Regions from separate parts of the Homo sapiens genome. Here all the other regions are linked to region 2. Evidence: promoter capture Hi-C in 16 types of primary human blood cells and fetal thymus (Javierre and others, 2016). All regions are on one chromosome and are shown on one strand. Each heading gives the region's core, a stretch centred on a gene start or on the middle of the fragment in contact. The rest is flanking DNA. Distances are from core to core; before and after follow the strand shown. Region 1 overlaps MOB1B (MOB kinase activator 1B). Region 2 holds the start of GRSF1 (G-rich RNA sequence binding factor 1). Region 3 overlaps MOB1B (MOB kinase activator 1B). Region 4 overlaps RUFY3 (RUN and FYVE domain containing 3). Region 5 overlaps MOB1B (MOB kinase activator 1B).

Region 1 (2,700 bases), core at 89-2,588, 130 kb after region 2:
TGGAATCTGGCTAGAAAGCAGTAATAAACAGAAATCTGTATATGTTTGGAAAAAGTAAATCTCAATGGAAATCAGAAAATATTTTGAACTGAAATTTGGTGATGAAAATACTATATATGGAAACTTGTGGGATATATTATAGCTAAAGCTGTGTTAGAGGAAATTTAGAGCCTTACATAAATACATATATTATAAAAGGAAAAATATTAAAAGTTAATGAACTAAGCATCCATCTCCAGAGGTTGGAAAAACAACAGCAAATTAAATGCAAAGAAAGTTAAAAGAGGTGAGGCCGGGTGCGGTGGTTCATGCCTGTAATCCCAGCACTTTGGGAGGCCAAGGTGGGTGGATCACCTGAGGTCAGAAGTTCGGGACCAGCCTGGCCAACATGGCGAAACCCCATCTCTACTAAAAATACAAAAATTAGCTGGGCGTGGTTGGGGCATGCCTGTATCCCAGCTACGTGGGAGGCTGAGGCAGGAAAATTGCTTGAACCCAGGAAGCAGAGCTTGTAGTGAGCTGAGATTGCACCATTGCACTCCAGCCTAGGCAACAAGAGTGAAACTCCGTCTCAAAAAAAAAAAAAAAGTTAAAAGAGGTTATCAGTAAAGAACAGAAGTTAATAAAATAGAAAAGAAACATACAATAAAGGGAATTGGGCTCGGCGTGGTAGCTCACACCTATAATCCCAACACTTTGGGAGGCCGAGGTAGGTGGATACTTGAGGTCAGGAGTTCAAGACCAGCCTGGCCAACATGGTGGAACCCCGTCTGTATTAAAAATACAAAAATTAGCCTTGTGTGGTGGCAGGTGCTTGTAATCCTACCTGCTTGGGAGGCTGAAGCAGGAGAATCACTTGAACCTGGGAGGCAGAGGTTGCCGTGAGCCAAGATTGCAGCACTGCACTCCAGCCTGGATGACAGAGCAAGACTTCATCTCAAAAAAAAAAAAAAAAAAAAAAAAGTGGTTCTTTGCAAAGTTTAAAAATTTATAACTCCTGGTAAGATTGATCAAGAAAAAAATATTTTAATATTTTAAAAATAATATTAATTTAAAATATTAATTATTTAATAATATTAGAAAGCACAAATAACCAATATCAGGGATAAAAAAGTAAATACATACCAGATCTTACATAGCATTAAAAGTTGTAAGAGAGGCCGGGCGCGGTGGCTCACGCCTGTAATCCCAGCACTTTCGGAGGCTGAGGCGGGTGGATCACGAGGTCAGGAGATCGAGAGCATCCTGGCTAACACGGCGGAACCCTGTCTCCACTAAAAATACAAAAAATTCTCTGGGCGTGGTGGCGGGCGCCTGCAGTCCCAGCTACTTGGGAGGCTGAGGCAGGAGAATGGCGTGAGCCCGGGAGGCAGAGTTTGCAGCGAGCCGAGATCACGCCACTGCACTCCAGCCTGGGCGACAGAGCGAGACTCCGTCTCAAAAAAAAAAAAAAAAAAAAAAAAAAAAGTTGTAAGAGAATGTTGTGAAGAAGTTATAAATTTATCCCAATAAATTTGAAAATTTAATTGAAATAACCTAATTCTTATAAAAATTCAACTTATCAAAGTTAACACTAGAATAAAAAATCTGAATAATCTTATAACTTAAAAAAAACTGTAATCTATTTAAAAACCTTGCCACAGTAGTATTTCCATGAAACAAGGAAGAAATAACGCCAGCCTTTGGCTCTTACAAAGAATGGAAAAAATATTAGTTTTATGAGTTCTACATGAACATTAGAAGAAAGGGAACTAGGTCATCTAACTTTTGAAATGAACATAGATGTAAAAATTCTAATAAAAGTATTAGTGAATTGAATCTAGTAACATTTTAAAAGTGTATATAATACATTATGACTAAGTTGAGTTTATTCCAGAAATACAAAGGTTAGTTTAGCATCTGAGGGGCCTCAGGTTGTGGCTCACACCTGTAATCCCAGTGCTTTGGGAGGCCAAGGTGGAAGGATTGCTTGAGGCCAGGGGGTTCAGATCAGCCTAGGCAATATAGTGAGTCCCACTTTTTTTTTTTTTTTTTGAGGCGGAGTTTTGCTCTTGTTGCCCAGGCTGGAGTGCAATGGCATGATCTCAGCTCACCACAACCTTTGCCTCCCAGGTTCAAGCGGTTCTCTTGCCTCAGCCTCCCGAGTAGCTGGGATTACAGGCATGCGCCACTGTGCCCGGCTAATTTTGTATTTTTAGTAGAGACGGGGTTTCTCCATGTTGGTCAGGCTGGTCTCGAACTCCTGACCTCAGGTGATCCACCTGCGTCAGCCTCCCAAAGTGCTGGGATTACAGGCATGAGCCACTGTGCCTGGCCGAGTCCCACTATTTATAAAAAATTTAAAAAGTTAACCAGGTGTGGTGTTGCATGCCTATAGTCCTAATTACTCAAGGAGATTGAGGTGGGAGGATTGTTTGAACCCAGGAGTTGGAGGCTGCAGTGAGCTCTGACTGCATCCCAAGCCTGGGCAATAGAGTGAGATCCTACTTCAAAAAAAAAAATAAATTAGAAAAAAAATATAAATTGGTCATTGTAATTCACTGCATTAGCCAAAATCAAGGAGAAAAAAAATCGTATCACAACAATACATGCAGAAAAACCATTTGCTAAAATTCAAAATCCATAATAAAAGGGTTATCAAGTAATAGATGAGAACTTTCTTCTGATAAAGCATACCTATTTGCAGAATAGCTATAACAT
Region 2 (2,700 bases), core at 134-2,633:
CAGCCATGCTGATTAGCCTCCCAGTCTCCCTAAGTTAAAGGAGAAGCACAAATTGAATTAAGATAAATATGACCTAAGGAATCAGGGGCTGGGTAGTTAAAAAGTGTGCAGACACTTCCCAGATGCCACGTACCAAGAAGAGAAAGGTTCATCTACAAAGCACAAAATATTTGCAATCTAACTACACACCGACTTTTCTAAAAAAATAAAGAAAAAATGGAAAGGAAAACATTGCAAATTCATTCCTGGGACCCCAAGTTGTGTCCTCAACCCTCAACGCTCCCTCCCATTCACCCCCTCCCCCCAACAGCTAAATCTCCAAACTGCTTTCCCAGACGAGGCGACACACAGTCCTTAAAGACCTTCTGTATGAGTGGAGTTGCAGAGGTGACCTTCAGTAAACCGGGACAGCTCGTCTTTCCCTGGGGACAGGAGAGGGAACGGCGCGATGGGGACAGGCTCCTTCCCTACAAGCCAGCCCACGCAACTGTGTGCGCGCACCTTCCCAGCAGCGGCCGACCGAGAGGCGCCGAGGGCCGCCCAGGCCTAGCGCTCGGGCTGCACGGAAACTCCCAACCCTCCGGCGGGCTCGGGCCTCGCAACTTCACAACCAGCCGGCGGAAAGCAAGAAGATGCGAGGTGGGGGCGTCAGCAGCCTCACGAAACCTACCATGGGCCAGGCGGGGAACAAGGCCTCAACATTCACCCCAGCCACACTTACACTGCCCAACCGACCAGAGACTCGAGGCGAGAACAAAACAAGCAGAAGACCCGACGCCTGGGAGAGCTTCCCTTGTTCCAGGGCCCAATAGGAGCACAGGGTGGACGGGGGCGGGTGTGCGGCGAGTGTCGCGGATCCCCGGGCGTGCCCGCGAGGCGCACACGGAGGGACGGAGGGGCGCGGGGGCGCGTGCACGCGGCCCGGGAGGGATCTCGCGCCAGGTCCCTCACGGCGCCCACGTACCTGGCTGTAGCTGCGCGTCGGGACGGCGGCCGCCGCCGCCAGCGACTGCGGCAGCAGAGAGGCACGGAGGGCAGAGTAGGACGCGGCGGCCGCGGCCGCGGCAGAGGTGGCCACAGCGGGAGGCCCCGCCAGCCTCCCGGGAGGCACAGGCCCGGTCTGGAGGCCACGCGTCTGGGAGGCAGCGGCCGCGGCGGCCCCGAGCAGCAGCAGCAGGCGGCGGCGGCCCGAGACGCCCGACGGGATAGAGCCAGCGGCGGAGTAGAAGGGCAGGCAGGCGGCGCCGGTGCGCCGGCAGCTGCTGCAGTTACAGCCGCAGCCCCGGAGCAGCGCCCCGAGTACCCAGCGCGTGCCGGCCATGGACTCCGGAGGCGGCGCAGGGCCTGAAGGCAGCTGCTCCAGCAGCGATGGTGGAACGGAAGTGGAATCCAGGGCCGGTTGGGGGTGGGGTGTGCCTGGCACATGCGCCGCGGGCACTGGGTGGGGGGCCTCCGAGAGTCGGAAGGAGGTGGAGGAGAGCGCGACGCTCCGCCCAGTCTCCGCCCTTGGGCGGGGCTGCCCATGGTTTGGGCGGGGCTGCCCATGGTTTGGGCGGGGCTGCCCATGGTTTGGGCGGGGCTGCCCATGGTTTGGGCGGGGCTGCCCATGGTTTGGGCGGGGCTGCCCATGGTTTGGGCGGGGCTGCCCATGGTTTGGGCGGGGCTGCCCATGGTTTGGGCGGGGCTGCCCATGGTTTGGGCGGGGCTGCCCATGGTTTGGGCGGGGCTGCCCATGGTTTGGGCGGGGCCCGGGGAAGTGGGTGCAATCGAACTGCTCTTTTTTCAGGCGGTGGAAACTGAGGCCCAAAGTAAGTGAGGCTAGGGGCCTGGCGCAGTGACTCATTCGTAGTGACTCATTCTTGTAATCCTAGCACTTTGGCAGGCAGAGGCGGGTGGACTGCCTGAGGTCAGGAGTTCGAGACCAACCTAGGCAACACGGTGAAATCCCGTCTCTACTAAAATACAAAAAATTAGGTCGGACGCGGTGGCTCCCGCCTGTAATCCCAGCACTTTAGTAGGCCGAGGTAGGGCGGATCACCTGAGGTCAGCAGTTCAAGACCAGCCTGGCCAACATGGTGAAACTGTGTCTCTACTAAAAACACAAAAATTAGCCGGGTGTGGTGACGGGTGCCCGTAATCCCAGCTACTCAGGAGGCTGAGGCAGGAGAATCGCTTGAACCCAGGAGGCGGAGGTTGCAGTGAGCCAAGATCGTGCCACCGCACTGCAGCCTGGGCGACAGAGTGAGACGCCATCTCCAAACAAACAAACAAAAAAATTAGGTTAGGGCCATCCTGCTCTGGGTAGGGCCGAGAGCTGTAGCACAAGTCTGTGCTGCCCTGCGCTGTGCCACCGAAACCCGTGGTGTGAGTGGCTAAAGAACCCTTTCTGAAAGGAATTGTGATACCTTGGTTATAAAAAAATCGTTGGGATAATATCAGAGATTTGGTACCCCCCGAATTTGAGGTATGTGAGGAAGGAGAACTTCGTTGTTTTAAAATGAAATATAGGCCTGGCGTGGTGGCTCATGCCTATAATCCCAGCGCTTTGGGAGGCTGAAGTGAGAGGATCACTGGAGCCCAAGAGTTCCAGACCAGCCTGGGCAACATAGGGAGACCCCGTCTATACAAAAAATAAATAAAGCTGGGTGTGATGGCGTGGGCCTGTAGTCCCAGCTACTTGGGAGGCCGATTGCTTCAGCC
Region 3 (2,700 bases), core at 51-2,550, 80 kb after region 2:
ACCAAACACTGCATATTCTCACTCATAGGTGGGAATTGAACAATGAGAACACATGGACACAGGAAGGGGAACATCACACTCTGGGGACTGTTGTGGGGTGGGGGGAGCGGGGAGGGATAGCATTAGGAGATATACCTAATGCTAGATGACGAGTTAGTGGGTGCAGTGCACCAGCATGGCACATGTATACATAAGTAACAAACCTGCATATTGTGCACATGTACCCTAAAACTTAAAGTGTAATAATAATTAAAAAAAAAAAAAGACAATTTTGAAACTGAAGTTTGATTTTGGAATTCCAGATTCCCGTAAATTATTTATTTTGCCAGAATGATGACTCAGAAATTTTAAAGAAGTAAAAACCTTTTATAACCTTTTACCAAAAAAACCTCACATTCTACTGTTCTTACACACATTGTATGTAAGACTGTTTCTTTTTTTGTTGTTGTTTTGAGATGGAGTCTTGCTCTGTTGCCCAGGCTGGAGTGCAGTGGCGCTATCTCGGCTCACTGCAACCTCTGCCTCCCGGGTTCAAGTGACTCTCCTCCCTCAGGCTCCCAGGTAGCCAGGACTACAGGCGCGCACCACCATGCCAGGCTAATTTTTGTAGTTTTAGTAGAGACAGGGTTTCCCCATGTTGGCCAGGCTGGTCTGGAACTCCTGACCTCAGGTGATCAGCCCGCCTCGGCCTCCCACAGTGTTGGGATTACAGGCGTGAGCCACCACACCCAGCTGTAAAACTGTTTCTAGTAGTCTTAATTGCATGTTATAATGGCAACTCTTAGAAATTTTAATTTTGATGTAAAACCTGGTGAGTTATGTTCAATAAGGTTTGATGTATAGTCATGACTCCACATGTCCCCAGGCCTTACCTAGCTGGAAAGCAGGCAAGTTAAACAATTTTCAAAAGCCAAAGAAACAGCTTATGACCCTAAAGCAAATATTTGAACATAATTTAATTACATATTATGTTATACATAATTATACATAACATAATATGTAACCACATATTTACATTTTGAAGACATATTTTACCAATTATCTTTAAAACTATCCTTATTTCCCAGAAATTACTCAAGTCACATGAACTAGATAAAAGACATTACACTTTTCACTTTTCTGACAAAATATTTGATTTAAGCTCCTCTTCCTCTTCCTCCTCCTCCTCTTCCTCTTCCTCTCCTCCTCCTTCTCATTCTCCTTCTCCTTCTCCTTCAACAGTCTCACTCTCCGCTCACTGCACCTCTGCCTCCTGGGTTCATGTGATCTCCTGCCTCAGCCTCCCAAGTAACTGGGATTACAGGCGTGCCCCGCCATGCCTGGCTAATTTTTGTATTTTTAGTAGAGATGGGGTTTTACCATGTTGGCCAGGCTGGTCTCGTACTCCTGACCTCAGGTGATCTGCCTGCCTCGGCCTCCTAAAGTGCTAGGATTACAGGCATGAGCCACTGAACCTGGCTTCTTATTATTACAGCAATTAATTTAAAACTTTATGGAGGAGATAAACAGTGACTTTTACTTTATATTTAACTAGTTTGCACAGAGAAAGAAGCCAGATATAGACTGGTAAGAAATTCTTACCCTTTTGCCAGCATGCCAGTTTTCTGGGTTCTCTCTCTCTGAGTGATCCTAGTGACCCTGCTTGACTGTATGCAGACAAACACATTGCCATGAATTAAGAATACTCACAAATAGTTTACAGATTTTTGGGGGAAATTAGGCAGAGAAAGAGAAGTATGATTCAAATTCTATTTACAAGAATATACTCAACACAGTTAAAGTATCAGGAGGCCTAAAATCCAAAAAGTTAGCTTAAGGATGAAAAGCTGGTGTGCTCCATTAATCTCTACTGATAAAGGTAGTTTAGGAATTCCAGATAAATGGAACAAATGATGACTTGCTAGAAATGCATCAGAAACAAAATAACCATTCGCGGAACCAAGTAAAAGCCTTCCACTAGGAACTAAAAAATATCATGGTTTTTTATATATATGCATACACAAGCAAAGCCAGAGGAGAATAAACAGCAAATGAATGAAAACTAGAAGCAAAAACAAACAGGAAACCAACCCTAAATTTTCCTATTTAATTTACCCTGGAGGCTACAGTGTTACCTAGGGCCCCAGAAAACTCACATAATGAATATTTTATTCCTGATACACAATTTAATATCCTTTAGTTTACCAGTACTATTATACATTCTATGCAGTCAAGAAATCCACTTTAGGCACATGACCAGTAAGTACTCCAGTGCCAGCACTATCTATGCAAAACAGTAAACATAATGTGAAGCAATGCAGGCATGTGTGTGAAATTTGGCTCCACAGTAAATCCAGCTTCATGCTTAACTATATTAAAAAAAGAATTGCCAAACTGCTGATGGATTTCTTTCTTTCTTTTCTTCTCTCTTCTCTTCTCTCCCCTCCCCTCCCCTCCCCTCCCCTCCCCTTCCCTTTTCCTGAGATGGAGTATTGCTCTGTCACCCAGGCTGGAGTGCAGTGGTGCGATCTCAGCTCACTGCAAGCTGAGTGAGCTTGCAGTTCAAGCAATTCTCTTGCCTCAGGCTCCCCAGTAGCTGGGATTACAGGCATGTGCCGCTATGCCCAGCTAATTTTTGTATTTTTAGTAGAGATGGGGTTTCACCGTGTTGGCCAGGTTGATCTCGAACTCCTGACCTCATGATTCACCCACCTTGGCCTC
Region 4 (2,785 bases), core at 144-2,643, 80 kb before region 2:
AACATTATTTGTAGGCCAGGTGTAGTGGCTTATACCTTTAATCCCAGCACTTCGGGAGGCCAACATGGGAGGATGGCTTGAGGCCAGGAGTTCAAGACCAGTTTGAGCAACATAGCAAGACTAAATAGCCATACTTTTGTATACTATTCAGCACAAAAATGTTAATAATAAGAATTAAATAATACTCATTTTAGCTTTTGTGTTCATTTACAATGAGCAATATATTCTTTTTAAAATTTTTGATGTGTAATAATTATACATATTTAGGGATACAGACTGACATTTTGGCTCATGTATACAATGTAATGATCAAATCAGGGTAATTAGCATATCTCTTGCCTCAAACACTTATTTATTAATTTTGGGAATATTCAAAATCCTCTCTTCTAGCTATTTGAAAATATAAAAAAAAAAAAATTATTGCCAGGCGTGGTGGCTCACACCTGTAATCCCAGCACTTGTGGGAGGCCGAGGCAGGTAGATCACGAGGTCAGGAGATCAAGACCATCCTGGTTAACACAGTGGAACCCCATCTCTACTAAAAATACAAAAAATTAGCCCAGCGTGGTGTGGGTGCCTGTAGTCCCAGCTACTCGGGAGGCCGAGGCAGGAGAATGACATGAACCCGGGAGGCGGAGCTTGCAGTGAGCCGAGATCGTGCCACTGCACTCCAGCCTGGGCGACAGCAAGACTCTGTCTCAAAAAAAAAAAAGAAAATTATTGACTATAGTCACCATACAATGCTACAGAACACTAGAACTTACTCATCTTATCTAGTTGTAGCTTTGCATCTGTTAACCAACCTCTCCCTATCTTCCCCTCCTCCATACTCTTTTCATTTTCTAATAATCACAATTCTACTCTCTACTTCTATGAGCTCAACTTTTTTAGCTTCCACATATGAGTGAGAACATGTGGTATTTATCTTTCTGTCCCAGACTTATTTCACTTAACATAATGTCCTTTAGGCTCATCCATGTTGCCATGAATCATAGGATTTCATTCTTTTTATGGCTGAATTTGTGTGTGTGTGTGTATGTGTGTGTGTGTGTGTGTGTGTGTGTGTATACCACATTTCTTTATTCATGTTGATGACACTTAGGTTGATTTCATATCTTGGTTATTGTGAATAGTGCTGAATTAAACATGGGAATGCAGCTATCTCTTTGTTATATCGATTTCCTTTCCTTTGGATAAATATCTGGTAGTGGGATTGCTGAATCATATGGTAGTTCTACTTTTAGTTTTTTGAGGAACCTCCGTACAGTTTTCCATAAAGGCTATACTAATTGACATTCCCACCAACAGTGTATAAGAATTCCCTTTTTTCTGCATCCACACCAGCATTTTTTATTTTTTGTCTTGTTAGTAATAGCCATTCTGAGTGAATTGTTACTTTTAAGCTCTTATCTCTAACAATCAAATTACTATAACAGATTTTTGTTTCACTTTCATTTGTTTAGATTAGTAGTTCTCAATGTGGAAGGACCTGATTTAATCTCCCAAAGAATATTTGGCAGTGTCTGGAGACATTTTTGGTTGTCTTAACCCACCAAAAACAGTTGTCAGTGCTACTGACATCTAGTGTTACCCACTACTGGGTTGCTGTGAAAATTAGTTTTCAGAACAGAGCCCCATAAAAATGAATTATCTAGCTTAAAATGTCAACAGTGCCAAGGTTGAGAGTAGTGTTTTTTAAAGAATGGGTAGGTTGTTTATGTTTGATGGAAGTTAGTTTAAATAGATTGTAGCACCTTACTAATGGAGTCCATGATATCAGAAATTTAATTCCCATAGACGCTAGTTAACCTGTCTGTAGTTCATGCACTCCAGACCTCAGCCAGATGTCTTAAACATTTCTGCTGCAGATTATAAGAAGAACAAGATGAGAAAATGTAGATGGGTTGGTATAAATCTATCACTACTTCTGGAAAAATGTCTCAATATGATATTTTTTACTTAACCCAAGTCTATCTCTCACCACATGACTAGTTCTCACTACGTTGGAATCAGCTTGTAAACTTTGACTAGCAGCATTGTTTAATCTTGTTATAAGTTCCTGAATTAATGGTCTACAGGCTTGAGGCAGAGTGAATGCCTCAAAGTTATGGGCAGGCAGTTATCTAGTACCAACCATAGTCTCCTGCCATCTATTGGGAGGTGTCAGGTGGGAAGGCTAGTAGCCCTCTACACATATTCATACCCACACCCCAGCTCTATTTTTTTTTTTTGAGTAATTATAGGAGGTCAGAAACACTAGAATGTACATACATGCTGGTAATAAATGGAAATTAATATCTGATAGTTTTCTTCATGGCTGTCTTTCAGGGCATAGTTTTCCATGTATTTTGCTGTCCTCTTGTGAGAATACTACCCTTGACAAGTTGATCTACATTTAAGCTATGGCCACATTTAAACTATGGCCCTAAAACATTTGTTGTTATGCAAGAAAGAATTAATGGTGATATATACCAATTCTGACTCTCACATAAAGTGTTTCTCCAAAAGTAACCTCAGACAACATAACAACAAACCAAGATTTATATAGTTGGAATTGCAAATCCGTAAGTCCTTAAACTTAATGAGAAGATTAATTTGGAATTTGACCATTTGACTCTGCTCATTTAACTTTGAAAGCAGATATAAATAAAAACCTTGTATGAAGAAAATTGCTTGGGATAATTTGCATTAAACAGTCTGTTTTTTGCTAAGTGGCTTATTTGTATTATGGAAGCATAGCCTTATTAGTATTTTTAGTCTTCCTAAGAAGAAATGGAATACATCA
Region 5 (2,700 bases), core at 75-2,574, 100 kb after region 2:
TTAAAGTGGAATTGCCATTTAATATTCTAGTGGTCTATTAAATATTTAATATTTAATATTTAATATTCTAGTGGTCTATTAAAGTGGAATTGCCATTTAATAAGTAAAGTTATTTCCTAGTACACTTTATCAGTTTTTATAGGCATTAGCATGGATTTCTTTATTTTTTTAAGAATGAATTTAATGCATTGAATTTCTCATAAATGCCATGGTTTTGAACTTTAACATAAATTATTTTATAAATATGATTAAAGCTTTCTGCTAGTCACTGTTTAATAGAAAAAGAATAAACCTAAACTGTAGTTTTTAATTGAAATAAAACTTGTACCTATCCTGAATGTATGTGTGTTTTATCTAAAAGATATGTCTATAGGATTAGAAATTAAATGTGAAGCTCATAGACATTTAAAGAGAAACTGATGTTTTTATGATAACCTCAGGGAAAAGATACAGACTAGGGCAGGATTTCTGTATCTGGGTTTATGAACAGGTTTTAGCCCCTCCCTGAATTCCTGTATGCAAAATATTGTGTTTTTTGTCTGTAGAGAGAAGGTTCATATTGTCGGATTATGAAAGACTCAAAATAAAGAACTGGAGGCAAAGAAGTAAGCAAAGAAAAAATTATTATATGAATGTTTAAGAGCATTGTGGCAGTATTTCCCTTTAATGTAGCTCAGAAATATATCTCAGTGGGTTCGGGGAGTTCATTGCTAAGTTATTTTTATTTTATCGAGATATGATTTACAAAACATGAAGTGCTCAGAACTTAAGTGTATAGTTAAAAGAGTGTATGCTTTTTGTAAACCACACTGCTTTTAAAACCTGAAACATTTCTGTCACCCTAGAAAGTACTTTACCTTTTAAAAATAAAACCATAGGGTCATTTCTGATGGTTTTTTTGACATAATATTGTATAAGCATACATTCTCATTTCACATAGTTCTAGAGATTCCATTAGCTAAATGGGGTGGTTCAGCTTTTATGGAAGAGGAACAAGTAGTTTACTAGTTCTGCTTTTTGCACTTGGTGCTAGTTTTGCCCATTGAACAGCACAGCTGTTATAACTGTGATGATCTTTGAGGTGAGCAAAGAACTGGGATGACATCCAGTATCTCAACACCTGGATCTTTAGCAAGATTAGCTCACATCATTTCTTATAGTTAATCATGTTTTCCACTTACCCCACAATGATGAATAATCATCTGACATAAAATAGTGAAAGAGCTTTGATAAACTTTTCTAAAGACAGTAGTTCAAGGTATAGTAACTTTTTAAAAAAAATCAACAATCATTGATCATTTACTGCATTAGAAGGTAGCTTCTGAAAAAATACCCAAGTGAATAAGACATATGGGACCTGCTTCTAAATTGTCCATGGTAATAGAAGAGACAGGAGTTAACGCACACTTCTCATAGCTTGGTAAATATAGTAGTAGAAGACTATACGTGTACCTAAATGGGTTTATATATTGGTAAATTAGAGAATCAGTTATATCAAGCTATAACTTCTGATTTTCCTTCTGTAAGTAGCATTAATAAGCCTTCAAGTGGGTAGAGATCTAGATTTTTGGAGAAAATCTTTTTCAATCAAAATAAAAAAAAACAAAACATTTCCCTTTTTGAGAAAATGAAAAAATATATAAATACAAAATTTGATGTCAAAATGAATATTTAGAATGAAAAAACACAGATCACAATTTTAATAACACAAGGTTAGTTAACATCACAAACTATAGAAAAATAACATTTTTATGGCAACTGCTAGATATCTGTAATACTTTTTTTTTTTGAGACGGAGTCTTGCTCTGTCACCTAGTTGCAATCTTGGCTCATTTCAACCTCCACCTTTCAGGTTCAAGTGATTCTCCTGCCCTAGCCTCCTGAGTAGCTAGGATTATAGGCACATGCCACCATGCCCGGCTAATTTTTGTATTTTTAGTGAAGACTGGGTTTCACCATGCTGGCCAGGCTGGTCTCAAACTCCTGACCTCAGGTGATCCTCGCGCCTTGGCCTCCCAAAGTGCTGGGTTTATAGGCGTGAGCCGCTGCACCCGGCCTCTAATACTTTTTTATTTAGATTTTTTTGACTGTATACTTTTTGACCACTTCTTCATATGTCAACAGTGTACTTTTTTCTCTACCATGACTGATCAAATTGTGTTTATTATTGATAGTTTAGAAAAGTTTGAGATTGACAACTCGTTTTATTGGTAGTGTCTGTAATATTTTAAGATTGTTGTCAAATTTGGGGCAGCTCCTTCTGTTAGGCTGTTCTTGCATTGCTATAAGGAAATACCTGAGACTGGGTAATTTATAAGAAAAGAGGTTTAATTGGCTCAGGTTCTGCAGGCTGTACAGGAAGCATCGTGGCATCAGCTTCTGGGGAGGCCTCAGGAAGCTTACAATCATGGCAGAAGGCAAAAGGGAGAGCAGGTACGTCACATGGCAAAAGTAGGAGCAAGACAGTATGAGACAGAGGAAGTAGAGAGGAGAGAGAGAAAGGGGGAGAGTAGGGGATGAGATGCCACAGACTTTTAAATGACCAGATCTCGAGAACTCATTCACTATCACATAGACATCACCAAGCCATGAAGGACCCACCCCCATGATCCAAACACCTACCAGCATTGGGGATTACAATTCAACATGAGATTTGGGTGGGGACAAATATCCAAACTGTCTCACCCTTGGTTTTATATG

The links. Contacts are between HindIII fragments. The CHiCAGO score rates a contact against its expected background, and 5 or more counts as called.
Region 1: a fragment that was not itself captured here is called in contact with the fragment with the promoter of GRSF1 in region 2 in 5 of 17 cell types (fetal thymus, M2 macrophages, M0 macrophages and 2 more); the score reaches 10.1 in fetal thymus.
Region 3: a contact is called between a fragment that was not itself captured here and the fragment with the promoter of GRSF1 in region 2, in 4 of 17 cell types (erythroblasts, total B cells, M0 macrophages and 1 more). The highest score is 6.6, in erythroblasts.
Region 4: a fragment that was not itself captured here is called in contact with the fragment with the promoter of GRSF1 in region 2 in 2 of 17 cell types (total B cells and naive B cells); the score reaches 8.4 in total B cells.
Region 5: a contact is called between a fragment that was not itself captured here and the fragment with the promoter of GRSF1 in region 2, in 7 of 17 cell types (M2 macrophages, total B cells, M0 macrophages and 4 more). The highest score is 8.7, in M2 macrophages.

The regions. Positions count from the first base shown.
Region 1 is chr4:70,964,358-70,967,057 of GRCh38, forward strand. All of the region lies in intron 2 of MOB1B (MOB kinase activator 1B), which reads left to right. Among named protein-coding and RNA genes, the nearest start is that of DCK, 28 kb to the right of the region's middle. The HindIII fragment of the contact is 9,182 bases long and covers 1-2,700 here.
Region 2 is chr4:70,838,507-70,841,206 of GRCh38, forward strand. It overlaps GRSF1 (G-rich RNA sequence binding factor 1), which reads right to left and starts at 1,384. Exons shown (of 10, transcript NM_002092.4): 1 at 965-1,384. The coding sequence starts at 1,321. It overlaps LOC124900710 (a long non-coding RNA gene), which reads left to right and starts at 486. Exons shown (of 3, transcript XR_007058131.1): 1 at 486-639. RefSeq lists enhancers at 87-741, 742-1,395 and silencers at 792-1,341, 1,402-1,651. The HindIII fragment of the contact is 9,073 bases long and covers 1-2,700 here.
Region 3 is chr4:70,919,065-70,921,764 of GRCh38, forward strand. All of the region lies in intron 1 of MOB1B (MOB kinase activator 1B), which reads left to right. Among named protein-coding and RNA genes, the nearest start is that of MOB1B, 18 kb to the left of the region's middle. The HindIII fragment of the contact is 5,112 bases long and covers 1-2,700 here.
Region 4 is chr4:70,758,336-70,761,120 of GRCh38, forward strand. All of the region lies in intron 1 of RUFY3 (RUN and FYVE domain containing 3), which reads left to right. Among named protein-coding and RNA genes, the nearest start is that of RUFY3, 38 kb to the left of the region's middle. The HindIII fragment of the contact is 3,550 bases long and covers 1-2,785 here.
Region 5 is chr4:70,942,278-70,944,977 of GRCh38, forward strand. The region is part of intron 1 of MOB1B (MOB kinase activator 1B); the gene reads left to right. Among named protein-coding and RNA genes, the nearest start is that of MOB1B, 41 kb to the left of the region's middle. The HindIII fragment of the contact is 2,144 bases long and covers 253-2,396 here.